Regions from separate parts of the Homo sapiens genome. Here all the other regions are linked to region 3. The links are contacts of gene promoters, found by promoter capture Hi-C in blood cells and fetal thymus (Javierre and others, 2016). All regions are on one chromosome and are shown on one strand. Each heading gives the region's core, a stretch centred on a gene start or on the middle of the fragment in contact. The rest is flanking DNA. Distances are from core to core; before and after follow the strand shown.

Region 1 (4,779 bases), core at 315-2,814, 670 kb before region 3:
CAGCAGAAACAAATCCAACAGCCTCTGCCACGTCCTTATTGTCAAAATGGTGACAGATGTTGGCATGGAGTTGGTGCAAGGTATATTCAAGTACACAAACCTTAATTGTGTCACTAAACTAATGGAAGGGGCTAATGAAGGTTATTAAAACAAATAACAGAAAACTTTAATAAGAAAAAGGTACAGTATTATCAGAATAAATCTTCTAAGGGATTTGTCCCAGATATTTAAAATTCTGAATTTGTATGCAGAAAAAAAGCCTAAAACTAAAAATCAGCCTCATGTAAAAGAATTTGCATATAACATTAGAAAATTGGGCATTTTAACATTTTTGGAAAAAAAAATTATCTAACAACGTGCCCAAGATACTAGATTCAATTGTAGGACTGAGTGACTGAATGAAAATACCAAGTTCTGATTGAAGATACAAATGTGTAAGTGTACCATTGAATTTTATCATGAGAACCACCAAAAAAAGCACCTACAGGTTACCAGCAAACTAGTTCATCATTTAAAATTCAAATGGATGAGGAAGATTAGCAGAAACAATAGTCCAGAAGGCGGCTTGTCTTGCAAATCAACTTGCTGAGCAGCTCTTTTTCACCTTCTTAAATTAAGTGCACTTTAACAAGGAGAGCACAAGCACCCAGCATTGCATGCATGCATCTCTATGATCCAGAGCCCTCTGGAGAGCTTCTGTTCTTCAGAAACCTGCAGAACTTATTAGGAAATACTTGGAAGAAGACAATCATCCAATAGCTTAGTAACTTGGAGTGTTTTTTAATTAGCAGAAGAAGAGCTAACAAAGAAGGCTGAGAAGTCAACAAGAAAGAAAACTCAGTAATATACAAACAGCTGCCATTTAGCAGTGATGTCTTTGGGTAAACAACTGCACTTTCTTTGGATGACTCCAAAACTAGTTGAATCTCAAAAGATTATTACAGAAAATGCCATTAGCTGAAACTTTTCCTATCAAAGTACCTCTACAAATGTAACAATATTAGTAGTTTAAGTATTTTTTTAAATATTGATATACTTGCATTAAGATAAAATACTATTTAACACTAGAAGAAAAAGGCCAAGGCATAAGCAGGTTTCCTGCTGCTCCTTACTTTACTCAATTCTGTTCCACCCACCCGGATCAGAACCTTCACTTAAATGCAGAGGATTAGAAAGCAATCCATATGCCAAAAGCACTGCAGCATTTCAGTGAGGCTGCTCTGGGTCCATTTACCCTTACCAAAGCCAAGCATCAGAACCATAACCGCTGTTTCTACCTTCTGAGAAGTCTATTGATTGAGTCTTGTTGTTGCTTCAAAATTATCTATTCTTCAACTCCGAGGCTCAGTTTCTTCTTTAAATAATTTCAACAAAATGTTCATAATTTGCCTTTAAACATCCTCTTAGCCTTTTTATATCAGCTTATTGTTATGACCAAAGTAAATGGAAGACAGTGTATAGTCAGGTATTACCTTCTGAGTGATCCCCTCTACTCTCTTGACTTTAAGCCATAAAAAGACCTGACTTTTAGCAAGTGATTACAATACTTGCAATTTGGGCATTATTTTTGCGTAATACCTTTATTTTTTCAGTGCTGAAAATTCATGAAACAAAAAATGATGTAAAACATTAATACGTTTCAAGTAAAAATTAATAACAAATTAGAAAGTAGGAAATAAAAACATGCCTATATAAAAATGAACCTCGAGCATGAGTAAAAATAAAGTATCTTCAAAAAACTAACTGAACATTACATAGCAAAGAACAATAACATTTCACATTTTTTAAAAGCATGATCTTAAAACACGAAATGCCAACAGTATAAAAGAAAATGTTATAAAGACAAGAAATCACTTGCAATTCTATCATGCTAATAGAGCTGCATATTTCTTAATAAAGACAAAAAAATTAATGAAAACATTTAATTTGAAGTTTTTTCTGTATCTTATACGCTGGGTCAATTTAAGAAATCTGAACACATTTGTGACTCTAGGCTTTAACATACAAATATAGTTAATATATAAGAACCTTATTATTGCCCATAACACTAAAAAAAAAGGTATCTAAATTAAAAGCTGGCAGCACTATTAACAAATTCAATAAAAGACTGAATTATTTTATTCCAGGGCCACAAAATGTTTCCCCAAGAGGCATCTCCTAGGACCAGTGTACCCAGGAAAGTACACTGGAAAACAAAGTTTGAAGAATATAGTTAGCTGAAAACTGTATTATTTTAATACTGTATATGTTTTACTCTTCAGAGTCAGTAGCATTACACAGACACTAATAACAAAATAAACAATTCTTAGAAAAAGTGCTTCCTGTAGTAAGTATTTAACTAAATGTAAGGAGGCAAGATGGCTTAAAAGTTTGGGTCAATAAAAAAATATCTTGGTGATTAAAAGCAGAAAAATCTTGACTAGCTCCTGGTAACATGTCAGAACTGCAACACTGACATCTAGTGTTTTGTCCTGATGTATTCACACACAAATTGCCACAGATTTCATGTTTTTCAATGGTACTGTAAAGGCAGCCAAAGCAAGCCGAAACACTTTCTGATGGTGTAACCCACACCAATTCTCCACTTCAAAACCATGGCTATTTTTCTTTGGTGCATTTCTTACCCCGCTTGACTACCACAACATGCATAATATGAACACACAATAAATCCATGAAAAGTTTATAGCACCATTTTATACAACCTGCACTCACCCCACCAATTAAAAAAATATCCAGAAGAATTCCCTTAAGTCATGGTTTTATTTTATTATTTTCTTAAAGAAGCTCTATCTCAGAAGTTTTTAATCAGGCATTCACTGACAATGAAAATGATGACATTTAATATGAACAAATTAAAAATGCCAAAGTAATGAAGTCTCCCAGCATACTAAAAAAATAGGATTTACTTCTAGGATATCAAAGATTATCACTATGCAAACCAGAAAATAGAACTGGCTCAAAATATTATTATATCCTAATCAAATGAGGTTTTTAAAAAAATTTTCCACTCACTGATTTATAACAGCAGAAGCAGATATATCCAGGTGTCTAAGGGCATAGACGGAAATCACCAGACAAGTAAAAAATGCCTTTGAAGTCCTGTGTGTTGCCTTAAACATTAATTTTGCATTCTACTATAAAAATCTGGAACTTAAAGGACTACAAAGGATGCTTATTGAAGTAATGACTAAAAGTTCCAATCATGGCAGTGTTCTCTATTAAAGCTGCTCAGTAGCCACTAGCCACAAGAGCCTATTGAGTATTTCAAATGTGGCTAGCACAACTGAAGAACTGAATTTTTATTTTCTTTAATTACCTTAAATTTAAATCACATGTGGCTAGAGGCTACCATATTGAACAGAGCAGGGCTAAACCTCCGACGTACTGAGGTAGTCATAACGCATTTCTTATCTCCTGCTGCCTTTTCCCCCAAACCTCCAGCTCCCTTTCAAACTTGCCATCTGTTCCCTGACCCCAGATACGAATGGTTAGCTGCTGGCAGGAAAGTGAGCCATTTTCCTTAGCCTGGGATAAAGTTTTAAGAAGGCTCACAGTCCCTCAACATTCACTGAGCACTTATGAGTGATGGCCAAGAAAGGACAAAGGAAAAATCTAAATCTAGGTTTCTCTCCTTGAAGAACTCAGGAGTTTAGTAGGGTGAATAAATTACATAGCCAAATTGTAATAGAATTTGTAGGTGTTCTTAAAGAAAAACAATGAGGAAAGGGTGACCAGAGATATCTGGGATGGCTTAGAGGAAGTTTTACAAAGATGATATTCAAGTTGTTTCTTAATGCAAGAATTTGAATGACAAAAGAAAGGAGGAAGCCAAGGAAGTAAGATTCCATAACCCAAGCCAGTTGATCAGACGGCAAGATCACTGAACCTAGAACCAAACACATCCTAGATTTGAGTCAGTGCTCTGTATGAAAATCAAAATTACTATTGTAATCATATTATTATTGGCATTCCAGGCAGAAGAAATCAGCATGTCCAAAGGGATAGGAATGTTAAAGATGATGAAATATTTATAAAATGACACCAAGTTGAGACTGGCTGAAACAAAAGATTTGAGAATTGGATGGTAAAAATTGGGCATAAAGAAAGTAAGTTTGGGATTTCATAAAAGCATGATTTATGATCCAAGAAATGCAATACACATCAATTCCAAGATTAAAACCAAGTAGTTTAAAAGTTCATACTCCAGGTGTGTGCTTCCAATAAAAGGCCAAATAGCTGGAATTTTTTCTCTTAGCACTTATCTTAAGTCCTTACTTTTAAAAACATTCTCTATTACAGTTTTTCTTTTAAAATGTAAATACCACCTGAAAGTGGTAAGCCTATTGGTTAACCTTTAACTTCCTTCACACCTTTAAAATTTGCCCTAAGTCAAACAGAACTCCCGGTAAAAACGTGATTGAGGACAGTTAGTAAGGGACAATGAAGTAAGGCTACCAGGATTCAATTTCAACTCCACACACTAATCTAAGTGGCTTTTCTGACATTAAGTCTTCTGTCTTAGTTTCTTCATCTGTAAAAATAGGAATAAAATGGTACTTCATTGGGTTTTCATAATTAAAATATGTAAAGTTCTTTGAGTGCCTACCCCTTAGTAAGCACCACTTAAATGCTGATTACACACCACACACACATGCAGAAATACACTCACAGACACATACAATGAGAATTTTTATGTGGCTGTGGTAGAGAAGGAGAAAGAAACAAGGAAGGAATGCCTCTGGTACTGGGAATCTTGAATTCATGTGAGGTGTTAAATGA
Region 2 (4,526 bases), core at 1,153-3,652, 850 kb after region 3:
TTGTGTCGTGAACATATGAAGCTTTGTTTCACATTTTAACCTCTCATGCTAGGGCTACAATCAGAGAGGACATAAGGCACGTGAGAATGCACACAGGTCTGGGAACTTGGTTCTGTTCATTGCCTTGGCACTAACTCACTGTAGGTCCTCGAAAATCCCTTCTCCTCCCTGGACTCTGTTTTCTCATCTGTAGGAACCCACTCCCTCTATGTGATTTGTTATACAGATAATATAGATTAAAGGAGAATCATCTGGAACCAAAGGCACAGAGCCTCAGATCTCCCTCCACTCTAGTTTTCTGTTTGATAACATGAAGATATTGATAGTAACAGAGCCACAGAATTTCTGTGACAGAGAGATAATGTACACACAGTATCTGATTTCGTAAGGGTTCAGTACATTTCAGCAATTTCTAGCTCTTATTCCATATCTAAATATGTATGATTCCATGAGAAATTGTTCCAATCTATCAATAACTCAACTTAAAAAATCTCCAGGCATTCCCAGGGTCCATCCTGATAACTTCTGTCAGGGAAAGAGAAGAATTGCTGGGTTTTCCATTTCAAATCTTATACACGGAGCATTTTCAATTTTGAAAATGTCAGAGCTTTGACAGTACTCCTTTAAAAGCAGCTTTGTTGTTTTTAAATTACATTTGTTAAGCTTGGAATCCATAATGTGAATGATAGGCCCTGGTGGTATTTATATAAAAATTAAAACTGTCAAGTTGTATTAAGGTTTAATCATTGGCTATGGCACATGAGCCACAATTTCTTTGCATGAGCCCTCTTGACATACTTTTCTTTTTCTTTTTTTTTAGATCTCAGCCATAGAAACATGCACATGGCCTTTAAAAAATTTCCTGAATGAGTTTATGTAGAAGAAGACAAGGCAGAAGAAACTAACAAACATGCTTCTATCTTAGGTGTATAGAACATGTTGGCTGCTAGTCACTTTATACATGGCATCTTGTTTGATTTTTAATGTGAATCTAATGGTGCATTATGATGCCCTTTGAACAGATGAAAGTACTGAGTGTCAGAGAGATAAGCCAGCTGTCCAAGGTCATTCCCCAAATACCAAATCCTAACCTTTTAATATGTTTTTCTAACATCTGCCTACATGAATCACACCTTCCCTTTTGTGATCCCAAAGATACTTCTAATTACCTCAATATTTGTGACTAAATTGTTAGCAAGAAGTGCTAAAATAGTTTTAAATCTATTACAACTCAAAAAGTAAGACTGTAACCAGTACTTTTTAAAAACAGTGCAAGTTTTTCTAAGGCAGACTGCATTAGGATATTGCCCTAGCCATTTACAAATTTTATATATAATATATAATTATATATATAAATATAAATATTTATATTTATATTTATAAATATATATTTATATATAAATATATATTTATATTTATAAATATATATTTATATTTATATTTATAAATATTTATTTTTATAAATAAATTTATAAATATTTATTTTATAATATTTATAGTTATTTAAATATAAATACATATTTTTATAAATAAATATAAATATTTTATGTTTATAAATATAAATATATATTTATATTTATAAATATAATGTTTATAAATATAAATATAATGTTTATAAATATAAATATATATTTATATTTATAAATATAAATATATATTTATATTTATAAATATAAATATATATTTATATTTATAAATATAAATATATATTTATATAATTATATATATATTTATTTTATATATATATAAATATATATTTATATTTACATATATAATTATATATATATATATATAGTTTAAGCCTCCACATAATAACAGAGATAGAAAACAATATGAATAACCACTAAGGAAGGGATCTTTACAGTTCAGCTCTGTATTCTGGCATTGTTTCAGCATTGACATAACAGAGTTGATGAGTGACTGAGGAAGAGGCCCATGGCTTCAGGTTAACATTGCTGATTCACTGTGTTCCCCTGAGAACCTGTTGCATAGATAGGTTTCTTTTCAAAAGCTTACTTTCTGTCTCATCTCCAGTATGTTTATCAGATGTTAGTAATGAGCTTCATTTCTTAGTATTTCCTCCTTTCGGAACAATGAAGTTAGATACTTCTTCCACATAGGTTGAATCCCAACTGGATGGCTCTCAAAAGTAGAGGAAGGCTTACTATTTCTAATCAAGTAGTACAATTTTGCAGTGGGTGTACAATACATTTCAGCCAAAAGTATGGCTCCTCCTGCGTGTCTATAGTCTGTTGGGGCCTGTTGACTACTTCCTGGTCAGGAAGTACTTCAGGGTCACAGGGAGCCCACTTCTGACCTCTGCGATGGGCCAAGAAAGGTAATTAGAGACTGCTGCTTGACTGCCAAGTGACCCAGGGATCTATAGACCCTGACTGTCAGGGCCCGACACAACACTTCTGTAGTGGATACTGTGGTGTGCTGTTCAAACCTTCTTCCAGGACCAAGAAATTCATTCCCTCTGCTACCAAAAGTGATGGTTCACAGTTGAGTCCCTCCCCAGGAATTATCCATGCCTCTCCCAAGGCTCTAATGACTGATCTAAGTAGAGGTACAAAGGACCAGCTCTCTTGTCTCAAGTAAGGACAACTCTGAAGAGGCATTTGAACTTTGGAGCTCCTGGCGGGATCCACTGCATTGCACTTAAACTCCTCCCTCTGCCGTTTTCTACTTCCCTCCCCACTCAGTTCTTAGGAGCACTCTCTAATAACACCCCACCCCCAGCACACAAATCTCAGAACTTGCTTCCCAAGAAAGCTCACCTATACAAGCTTCAACAGGTTTCTCTGTTTGGTCTGTTTTATAATTTCTATTGATCCGAGACCAGATAACTCAAATGACTCCTAGATTCTTACTCTTTAATTAATCTGAGCATGATGCTTTTCTGATCATTAGCAGTGATAGGTACCAGGTAGGTGAAGGCAGGTGGCAAGGCTAGGTTTGACTGTTGATAGCAAGCCTGGTTGTCTTCATAAGTCAGCATGGAAGAGATAATGGAATAGAGAGAACTTGTATCATTCCATGATAAGATATGTAAGTTAAACAATTTATCAGCTTTTTAAGAAAACATTCCTGCATTCAGAAAAGTAAATGCCAAATTTATGTGTATGTGTTATGTGTGTGTATAAGAAAGAGAGAGAAAGGAATGTGGATTACTTACAATAGGACTATTACATTGTGTTAGATGTTGGGACCATAGAAATGAAAAAGACAAGATGCCCATTTTAAAGATTAGGAAACTGAGTTCCCCTGAGTATCCAATAGGAATGTAATTATTCAGTGATTGAATCAAAACTCAGACTTAGATTTAAGTCTAGCACTGTGGTTCTTACACAACCCCTTGCTGATTCTTATCCATCATTTTCAGTGATCTGTAACAGATTACAAAGAAAAACCTCTTCAACAAAATGAGTGGAATAAAAAGTGAAACAGCAGTCTGGAAGTGTGATATGAGATCATAAATATCTGTGGCAGCTCTTCATTAGCTCTTGTTGAGAGAGTTTTCGTGTTGCGCTGGCTGACAGCTCAACTGCGGGGACACTGTTGGGAATGGGAGGAGCTGCTAGGCAGACTCTTAGCATTGCCTCGGAACACCATCTCTCACAGACTGAAATCTTGGCTCCTCACTGCTGGAGGAGTAGATCTGTAGTGCTTTTAAATTTTGTTACCCCATAATATACAGTGCATTTTATTTATGTTAGCGTCATCTTTTATACAGAGCTGTCACAAAATATGTCACTGCTGACTACAGCCTGGGTAGGCAAGCCCCATCTGTGAATTATGCCCTTCCCATGGATCATGCCAGTAGTACCTCACTGGGAAGAGAGTAGGATAAATCCAGAACACTGATAGATACACTTCAAAAGGTTAAGAGAAGACTAGGTGTGGAGTCCAACCTACAGTTAAAAATGCCTAGAGATGCCCTCGTTTGTCTTCCAACTTCTTGGGTCCTCTCCTTAGCACATGCTATACCCAATGGTTGTGAAGGTGTGTGGCTCTTCTGTCCCTGTCCCCATCTGGCCACACTTCTAGTGTTGCCTCAGTGCTACCCTTCACTGGCTTCCATGACCATCACTACTTTCTTCTTTAATGTGATCAGGACTGGGGGGTCTTGAGATTAGTCCTTGTCTCTTGTGATATTGTCTTGGAAGCCATGGAATATTCTTTTACCTCCTGAACTCCATAAAATCCCTTACTACCAATGTATTTGAAGATGGTTCTATGGAATGTTGTCCATGCCAACATACTGTAATATTTGAATGGATCTTGACCTTTAGATGTAACCATTTAGCATTTTTTTATTCCATAATTAACTGTACTAGGAACTATGCTATGGACACAATGGCGAATAAGACATAGTTCCAACCCTCAGAGAGTATGAAGTCCAGTGAAGGAATGCAGACCCATGAACAGGCGATTATGATAGTGTGGTAAGTGCTAGAACAGGGCTAGGGTTGGGATCCTTGGGACCACCTCGGGATGCAACTCAGGTGCCTCTAAGTCAGCCT
Region 3 (4,513 bases), core at 980-3,479:
CCTGGTGCAATCCCTCATATATAATCAGTCCTCAAAAAATACTGGTTGTTTCCCTTTCTGTCCATGTTACTCTATTGTTGTTATTATTTATTTATTTATTTATTTATTTATTTATTTATTTGAGACAGAGTCTTGCTCTGTCGCCCAGGCTGGAGTGCAGTATTGCGATCTCGGCTCACTACAACCTCTGCCTCCTGGGTTCAACTGATTCTCTTGCCTCAGCTTCCAGAGTAGCTGGGACTACAGGCGTGCACCACCATGCCTGGCTGATTTTTGTAATTTTAGGAGAGACAGGGTTTTGCCATGTTGGCCAGTCTGGTCTGGAACTTCTGCCCTCAAGTGATCCATCTGCCTCTGCCTCCCAAAGTGCTGGGATTACAGGCATGAGCCACTGAGCCCAGCTAGTATTGTAATTATTTTTTAAAAGCCTATATTCCATACAAGGATGTGAACATCATGATGGATGGGGCTTATTTCATTTATATATGTCATAAATACAGCACCTGCCACATACTCTAAATAAATAGATAATTTCTATGTTTAGCTATTGTTAGTATGTTTACTTAAACCAGGGCTACAGATTTATTGAAAAATTCATTAATGTGAGTCTTCAACAATTATTGTGTTACTATTATTTGTATGGGGCTATCATAGACGTTGGAGACAAAAATAATGGTGAGCAAAATAAGAGACACTGTCTCTGCTACTAGTTTAAGAGGGGAGATAGATATTATCTCATAAAAGAATGTAAAATTGAATTGTGATCAGTGCTGTAAGAGAGGTACGTTGTGAAATAATGATGTAGTAGGTGAGATAAACGTTAGAATAAAAGCAGCTCAGCAAGACCCTATCTCATTGACATATTTTCCATTGGTCTGTCATGTCACTGTATTCCATAATAGTCTAATTCACTTTTTTGCAGTTTCTTTTAAGTTACAAAAACTCCTGGGGCAATGCTTCTTTAAAATGAAACTCTTCCTGGGCAAGAAGTTTGGCTGTAGGGAGATGAAGAAGACTGCTAGTGGTTTTCTTACCCGTTATCTATTAATTAATATATTGGTACTAGTTACCGTGTCAGAATGGTTTAGACACTTTCATTTTATTTTATTTTATTTATATTTATTTATTTATTTATTGAGACAGGGTCTTAATTTGTCACCCAGGCTGGAGTGCAGTGGTACAATGTCGGGTCACTGCAACCTCTGCCTCCCAGGTTCAAGCGATTCTCCTGCCTCAGCCTCCGGACTAGCTGGGATGACAGGCATGTGCCACCATGCCCGGCTAGTTTTTGTATTTTTAATAGAGACGGGGTTTCACCATGTTGTCCTGGTTGGTCTAGAACTCCTGGCCTCAGGTGATTCGCCCCCCTCGGCCTCCCAAAGTGCTGGGATTACAGGCGTGAGCCACCACACCCGGCAGATACGTTCATTTTAAAAAGGCGAATGAGTCATAGAACAATTGAGTTTAGTGATGTTTGTAAAATAACGGAGGCTCAAATCCCTAGGTAGATGGGACACAATCTGAGTTCATTGGGCTAGTGAGTCAGGGTGACCCCCAGTCAGGGTATTGAACATAGGTTTCATCAAATTGCAGAGTGGTGATGTCGAAGAAAAAAAGCACTTTACAATTTTATCTATGCTGGGAGTTTCCTTAAATCATCTCACACTGAATATCTACGGCCCCTCTCTATTTAGAATTTCGTTGTATGGTAACAGAAACTCCCAATTATGTTTGCAGCCCATTAAGGGAAGAATTGGGTACTACTTAATGAATTAGGGTAATCGTTAAATCGTTAATTGGAAACTCCCGCTGAGGAACAACTGGTATAAAGTCACGCCCGCCCTTTACGCGATCCTTCTCTTCCTGACTTACCTGTTCCTAAAGTAGTACTGATTTCCTACAGTCGACGACCTAGCTTGCAGCCGGGCTAACGTGGCCATGGTCTCTTGGCCTTGGGTTTACAACTGGTGTTACTACCGGTCTCCATGGTAACTGGGCTAAACCATAGCTCACTCCCGGGGTTCGACTTTTTGTTCACTCCTCTTTTCTCTCATGCTGCTTTGACTTTAAGAGCACTAAAAAGAGAATTAAGAAATTTCTGTGTAGCACAAAAGTTTAATTTATTTGTCTCTGTCTCTACTGCGAGTAGGAAGAGGGGATTATAGGAAGGGGAAAGCAGTAAACGCGGAGAACTAATGGTTGCTCCGGGCATCCGGTTTCCGCCGCCTGTCGGCTTCCGGAAGCTCATCTCAAAATGCTGAACTGCTCTTTGGAAGTCGCCGGTGCTGTTGTAGTTGGAGTCTGTTCACGGGCCTGAGCTTCGAGGCCAGGCTCCCGGGTGTCGTTAATGTTCGGGGCCGCCGGGCGCCAACCGATCGGAGCTCCAGCAGCCGGGAACAGCTGGTGAGGCTGGCGGCCCTGGGGAGGGGGAGGTCAGGGAAGGGTGTGATTGCCCGAGGCCGCTCCGCTGGACCTGGAATGGAGGCGGGAGGGAGCTGTGATGGATGATCTGAAGACATCTAGGCCTTGCTCTCACTCATTCCTGGGATGCACGCAGTTTGAGGGAGCTCTTGGGTGTGTGCCAAAGATTTGTGAAAGAATACAGTAAATGTTTTCTGATTGCTTGTTTAACAATATTTTAGAAGTCAAGCTTCCTGTACTCCAGGAGCAATTCATCTCCTCATTGATTGTTGACAACACTAGGGACAGGAAGAATTTATCTTAATCCGGGCCTTATTCCCCACTCCTCTTTCAATATTTACCAGATTATACCAAGTCTTTTGGAAGATAAATTCCAGAAATCTAGAGTTCTGGAAGTTCAATCGTGGAAAACACATCACCCTCTCACCCCCTTTTTTAAAGAGAGAGGGTAACCTACCTGTTTCCACCCTCTTGAACATTCTATTCAAGTTAAAGTGAGATATGTATGGGGGCTTTCCAAGAACCTATAACTGTCAGGATTAAGTTTGGGGCTTGACTATGTCTATGGTATCATGTTAGAATAATATATTGCTTTGACTTTTCAAAGTATTTCCACAAATTAATACACTTTATCCTATGACAGCCTTGTGATAGCAGAATATCACAAGCACAGAAAATTCAAGTACCGTGTCCAAAGTTGCCCTGTACATTTTAATCCTAGAGCTAGAATCCTGATTTGGGGATTTCTAGTTGAACACTCTGTATTATCTGTCCTGTTTTTCTCCCAAGCCCTTTTCCTCCAAACATAACATAAGACAACCAGTGACACAAACAAGCAATTTCCCATTGAAAATCCTCAAACATAAAGTTCTGACCAACAGGTGAAAGAAATGTGGCTAAATGGTGCGTGTTCATTCCTAGATTCTGCAAAAATTAGAACATGAGGAATTCTAGTAGTCTGTGATCTCAGATAATTGCTTTTCCATCACCTATCACTGAAAAGTTAAAAGAATACCTTATCCAAAATATTTCTAGTTGGACCTGATCATCCTGTAGTTAATTTTATAGTGAATATAGATTTGATTATACTATTTGTAAATTATTACATTTTCCAGTGAGAAAAGTAGGGAGCATTTTTTAAATGAACCAGTTTTTAATGGTATAACTAGCATAGAATGAAATGCACAATTTTTACAGGCTTAATTTTATTAGTTTTGGCAATTGCATATACTTATGTAAACACCACACAAAACAAGATAATGGATTTGTCCATCACCCCACAGTTCCCTCTCAAGGATACCTGTCTTAATGTTTCACTGTTCATTATCTTGGTTAAGTCAGGGAGACAAAATGTCCTATGTAGATTGGTCTGCTCTTCCTAGGGTGCTATTGATTTGTAGGGTAGGTGACTACATCAGAATGTGATTGATTCTCTCAACTTCTTTTACCTTTAAAATCATGGTTAGGTACTGAGAGAAACCTCCTTCAATTCTCTTTAAAGGCTCGCTTGTCATACAACTCACCATTTCTTATGGCACCAGAGTATAACAAAGTGGTAGCACTTAGTATTTTTGAATGAAATTCTAAAGTCATTCCTGTTCTGTCAGAATGAATATGTTCCAGAAAACTGGATCTTTATTTTCTAGTCTATCTGTATGACTATCTGTATGACTATCTGGAATGTAAAAATTCCAGATTTCTTAATGGAATTTTCTTCTTCATTAATTGAACAGATATTTACTATATAAGTATGTTTGATCCCAGTAATAAATTCCAGTCCCACTGGGAATACTGCTACTAAGCAGTTAATTAGGTGCCAGGTTTTACAAATATGTGTCATCTCATGTAAATCTTTTGAGGTAGGTGTATCATTCTTTGCATTTTAGATAAGGTGACACAGAAGCAAAGATGGTTTAAGTAACTGGCCTAAGTATCATATTTGCAGGATGATTCCAGTATACCCCCCCAAAATTCTTAACCACTTTTATATGTTGCCTATGTGTCTGAATGAGATATAATATCTCAAGGAATATGTAACCTAGCAGTTAGATGCCCAAATTTGTTAACCAGTCTGGATTTTCTGACTTATTTA
Region 4 (4,789 bases), core at 1,238-3,737, 690 kb before region 3:
CATGAGCCAGTTTACACAGGTTCTCACAGCCACATTTGCAAACTTAAGCAACAAAAAGTATAATGACACTCATTGACTGTAAACACTGAATAAAAATCCCTATGTCCATGACATTTTAAAAAGACAAACAAGCCGGGCACAGTGGCTCACGTCTGTAATCCCAGAACTTTGGGAGGCTGAGGTGGGTGGATCACCTGAGGTCAGGAGTTTGAGACTAGCCTGGCCAACATGGTGAAACCCCATCTCTACTAAAAATACAAAAATTAGCTAAGCGTCGTGGCGGGCGCCTGTAATCCCAGCTACTCAGGAGGCTGAGGTAGGAGAACCACTTGAACCCGGGAGGTGGAGGTTGCAGTGAGCCGAGCCGAGATTGCACCATTGCACTCCAGCCTGGGTGACAAGAATGAGACTCCATCTCAAAAAAAAAAAGACAAAAGAAAAAAGAAGAGACTGGAGGTGACTATTAAACTCCTTACTCTGGAAGACCATAATTAAAAGGGATGAAACAACCCCCATCTTTAGGAACTTTAATTCATCTCTTGAAAAGTGTCAGCTAATAAATTAGAAAACAAATGAGAAAATCACCATTCTGTAACCTCAAGTCACTTAACTGTTTTAGGCAAGGATCACTAATTGATGGTAAAAGGCAAAAGATGGAGACAGGTACACTTGCTCCTGTGAAACTATTTGTCCCAGAAATTACTTTCTAACTGGGAGGTGGGGAGGGTGCACCTTTAATAAAAAAAAAAAAAGTATTTATTATCACTTTAACCAAGTGGAAACTGGCATCACTAGCACGAAACATTCTGATAATGTGTCTCCTGATGTGTTACAATAGCAAGTACATAGTATAAGCTGTCACACATATGATGTAATTATGGCAAAAAAAGTTTAACCTAAATCTCAGCAAGCCCGTAGTCCTAACTTCTAGCTTACAGGAAAAAGGCATAGAACAAGATAAATGACACCATAATGAAGTAATCAGACAAATTCATAAACCTGGATTCATTATTCATTCTTCAAGACAACTGGCCTGGATTCATTATTCATTCTTCAAGACAACTGGCTTGTCTCTTTAAAAAGCTAGTCTTTAAAAGAAAAAAAAAGACAAGGGATTGGTCTAGAACAAAAGAGAACAAGACAGAATCAAATGTAATAGGTGAGACTTAATTGAATTCTAATTCTCAAAAAGTTATAAAAAAATTTTAATTGTATGGTATATGAACATCATACCTCAATAAAACTGATTTTTTTTTAAAAAAGAGAATCTTCGGGGCACATGGGGGTAATACTTTCAAATAATCAACCTAAACAAACAAAAACTAGATGGAGAGAAAGGCAGATAGCTATTAACACAAACACAGTAAGTGTTAACAACTTTTAAACCTAAGTAGAAATACAGAAATATAGGTGGTTATATTACTATTCTTTGTAATTTTCTTCTTGTTTGACAATTTTTATAAAAGAGCTGGGAGTTCACGCCTGTAATCCCAGCACTTTGGGAGGCTGAGGCAGAAGAATCACTTGAGCCCAGGAATTCAAGATCAGCCTGGGCAACATGATGAGACCCCCATCTCTAGAAAAAAAAATTTTAAATCAACCGGGCCTAATGGTGCCTGTGGCTCTAGCTACTCGCGAGGCTGAGGAGGGAGGATCACTTGAGCCCAGGAGGTTGAGGCTGCAGTGAGCTGTGATCACACCACTATATTCCAGCCTGAGTGACACACCAAGACCCTGTCTTTAAATTAAAAAAAAAAAAAAAAAAAAAGGGTGTGGGGCATGGGGGAAGATTCTAAAATCTGTATTCGACACACAATCATCAAATACATGATGCATTTGATTTCTAGTAAATTTTAATTCCTTGACAAATGAAGAGAAAGTCAATTCTAACTTGAATTTATAAATAATTTTCTAAGTTGGTTTTATGAGTTTCATAACTTGAAAATATCTTACTATGTTTAACATTTTATCTTACATAACAGTTTTGAGAAATCAGATTTTAAAATGTGTCAGACTTCATTATGCTTTACATCAAATGAGCAGCACGAGAGACCTAGGAAAAAGCAGAATGCAAGCTGCTTCCTTCACCATTCTCTTCCTAGTCTTGCTGACACTGTGGCTTATCAGCCAGCCACAGTTCTTCCAGCTCATCTGGGTGAGAGAAGGAAGAGAAGTTTTCTATTGGAAGTGGAATTACGTAAAAACATCTGCCACAGCATCTGGCACAAAGCATACGCTAGTAAGTGCCCTCTCAGTCCTTCTACTCACTATCCTTACTTGCTGATGCCGAGTCATTGTGTATCACGTAATCCCCAACTTGGGACAGGTATGATCTTCTAATGATGTTCTGCACATTATTCACAAAGATGATGACATTCAAATAGTATGACAGCACCCCCATAAAAACCAAACTTATCTTAATAAGTAAATTCTTGTAAGTAATACAGTTAGTTCAACCATAAGTGGAAATGGGGAACAAGAGAAAGTGGACACATTTCTAGTTCCTTCAAATCTAGTTTTATATTTTCTAAGAATTATGCATTACTAGAGCCATCACACCTAACGTGAGTGAGAATATCCAAATCTAAACATAATTTTAATCAAATTATTGGAAGGTTTTTGGATTATTCAATAATTCAGATAAAAAGTAGTAAGAGTTCCCCTTCAAATTGGTTTCCAACTTTGGAATTCATCTTTGACTACAATTTTTAGAGAAAAAATAAGCACCAATATAGGGAACTCGTTTTGATGGCATGCAATGGAAAATAAAAATTATTGCAAACATTTATACAGCACTTACTATGTGTTAAGCATCATTCTAAGTGCTTTATGTATATTAACTTAATTGACTCTCACAACATCCCTATGAGGTAGGGACTGTTATTACTACTATATATAACAGGCATTTTGAACTCAGGCAGTCTGGTTCTAGAATCTGTGGCTTTAGTACTATGTGTTATATATCCCCACAAATGGTCTCAACTGCCTACTACTCAAAAATGGTAATTTTTACCAAGATGCAATAAAATATTATTCTGACTTTTAAAAATGCATTATAGGTGCTAACATGTAAGACTGATGTCTTAATATAATGCATTTTTAAAAGTCAAATGCATAGACTCATCTGTGCAGGATAATTTTTTTTTAAAGCCTCAGCCTCACTAAAGAAAATCCAATACAGGCAGCCACTTCAAATAGCACATTTATTCATATAGGGGCAAAAAGATGTATGGCACCATTAATTTTAAGTTAACAGTAACTAAAGATTTCTACAGCAGTTCTGTAATAACTAGTTCTTATTCTTCACTAATATCCATATTTTCCATAAGTCAAAATGCTGCATGTGCCATATTGCCAAACCTAAGTTCATTTTGATTAAAACTGTTGTTCAAATCAGAAACCACCCTACATGAAAACTAAATAGCATATTTTAAAAGACATAAATACAATGGGAAACTGGCTTAAAACCATTCCCATCAACAGTAATATGTATAATCCTGCTTGTTCTCATTTCAAACATGGAGTCTCACTTTTGCCTAAGCTCTATTTAGGCATTTTCAGTAAACAAACATTAAGCTGAATTATTTACAAAATTAGGATTCCACACATTCCTGTTAGAGAGCTTTACGTGAGAGTAAAACACTGTTGTCCTGCAATGCAGAGGCAATCTAAGGACAGCATCTTTCTCTACCTCCTTGCCTGCCTTCCACACCCCAACTTGATTTAAAAGCTAAATCCTGGCCAGGCACGGTGGCTCAAGCCTGTAATCCCAGCACTTTGGGAGGCCCAGGTCGGAGGATCACTTGAGGCCAGGAGTTCGAGGAGACCAGCCTGGCCAACATGGTAAAACCCCATCTCTACTAAAAATACAAAAAAAAAAAAATAAAATAATAAAAAAATAAAGCCAGGTGCGGTGGCATGCGCCTGTAATCTCAGCTACTCAAGAGGCTGGGGCATGAGAATTGCTTGAACCTGGGAGGCAGAGGTTGCAGTAAGCCAAGATCGTGACACTGCACTCCCACCTGGGCGACAGAGTGAGATCCTGCCTTAGAAAAACCAAAAGTAAATAATGAAAATAGCCAGAGGCCCACCAAGGGACCTGGGTGAGGAAGTCCTCCTTTCCTAGGCTTCTGTCTTTAGAAGCAAGAATTCAGCAGATCTAAGAACCAGAAGAAATGCACATTTTTAAAAGTACATAGCAATTTGGAGTCTGGGTCTAAGTTGTAAGATACCAAAGAAGCCAGGTATTTCAAAAGCATTCTCACCACTAATTATTTACCTATGAAGAAATTACAAGGTTGCCATTTATGACAAATAAATGAGAAATAGAGGAGTACCCTACCTTACCTCTATGTATGACATTTAAAGTGCTCATACCACAAAATCAGAAAAAATAAATACCTGGACTCTTCCAGTAACTCTTTTTCCTAGGGACTTCTATTAAAAATTATTGTCTAGCAATCACTAAGGAAATCACTTTCTTTCTTTTTTTTTTTTTTTTTTTGAGATGGAGCCTTTCTCTGTCACCAGGCTGGAGTGCAGTGGCGCAATCTCAGCACACTGCTACCTCCATCTCCCAGGTTCAAGCGATTCTCCTGCCTCAGCCTCCCAAGTAGCTGGGATTACAGGCCCCTACCACCACGCCTGGCTAATTTTTGTATTTTTTAGTAGAGACGGGGTTTCACCATGTTGGCCAGGATGGTTTCGATCTCCTGACCTTGTGATCAGCCTGCCTCGGCCTCCCAAAGTGCTGAGATTACAGATGTGAGCCACCATGTCCCGCCAAAAA

The links. The method cuts DNA at HindIII sites, captures the fragments that hold promoters and counts their contacts. A CHiCAGO score of 5 or more calls a contact.
Region 1: a fragment that was not itself captured here is called in contact with the fragment with the promoter of GPATCH2 in region 3 in 1 of 17 cell types (activated CD4 T cells); the score reaches 6.7 in activated CD4 T cells.
Region 2: a contact is called between a fragment that was not itself captured here and the fragment with the promoter of GPATCH2 in region 3, in 1 of 17 cell types (fetal thymus). The highest score is 8.8, in fetal thymus.
Region 4: a fragment that was not itself captured here is called in contact with the fragment with the promoter of GPATCH2 in region 3 in 1 of 17 cell types (naive CD8 T cells); the score reaches 5.2 in naive CD8 T cells.

Annotation. Positions count from the first base shown.
Region 1 is chr1:218,297,266-218,302,044 of GRCh38, reverse strand. All of the region lies in intron 1 of RRP15 (ribosomal RNA processing 15 homolog), which reads right to left. Among named protein-coding and RNA genes, the nearest start is that of RRP15, 14 kb to the right of the region's middle. The HindIII fragment of the contact is 6,442 bases long and covers 1-4,779 here.
Region 2 is chr1:216,776,369-216,780,894 of GRCh38, reverse strand. It overlaps a transcript of ESRRG not described here. Among named protein-coding and RNA genes, the nearest start is that of ESRRG, 55 kb to the right of the region's middle. The HindIII fragment of the contact is 778 bases long and covers 2,014-2,791 here.
Region 3 is chr1:217,628,806-217,633,318 of GRCh38, reverse strand. GPATCH2 (G-patch domain containing 2) reads left to right here and starts at 2,229. Exons shown (of 10, transcript NM_018040.5): 1 at 2,229-2,403. The coding sequence starts at 2,348. It overlaps SPATA17 (spermatogenesis associated 17), which reads right to left and starts at 1,975. Exons shown (of 11, transcript NM_138796.4): 1 at 1,873-1,975. The coding sequence starts at 1,940. RefSeq lists enhancers at 1,951-2,190, 2,221-2,290. The HindIII fragment of the contact is 9,292 bases long and covers 1-2,652 here.
Region 4 is chr1:218,314,706-218,319,494 of GRCh38, reverse strand. All of the region lies in intron 4 of RRP15 (ribosomal RNA processing 15 homolog), which reads right to left. Among named protein-coding and RNA genes, the nearest start is that of TGFB2, 28 kb to the left of the region's middle. The HindIII fragment of the contact is 5,511 bases long and covers 1-4,789 here.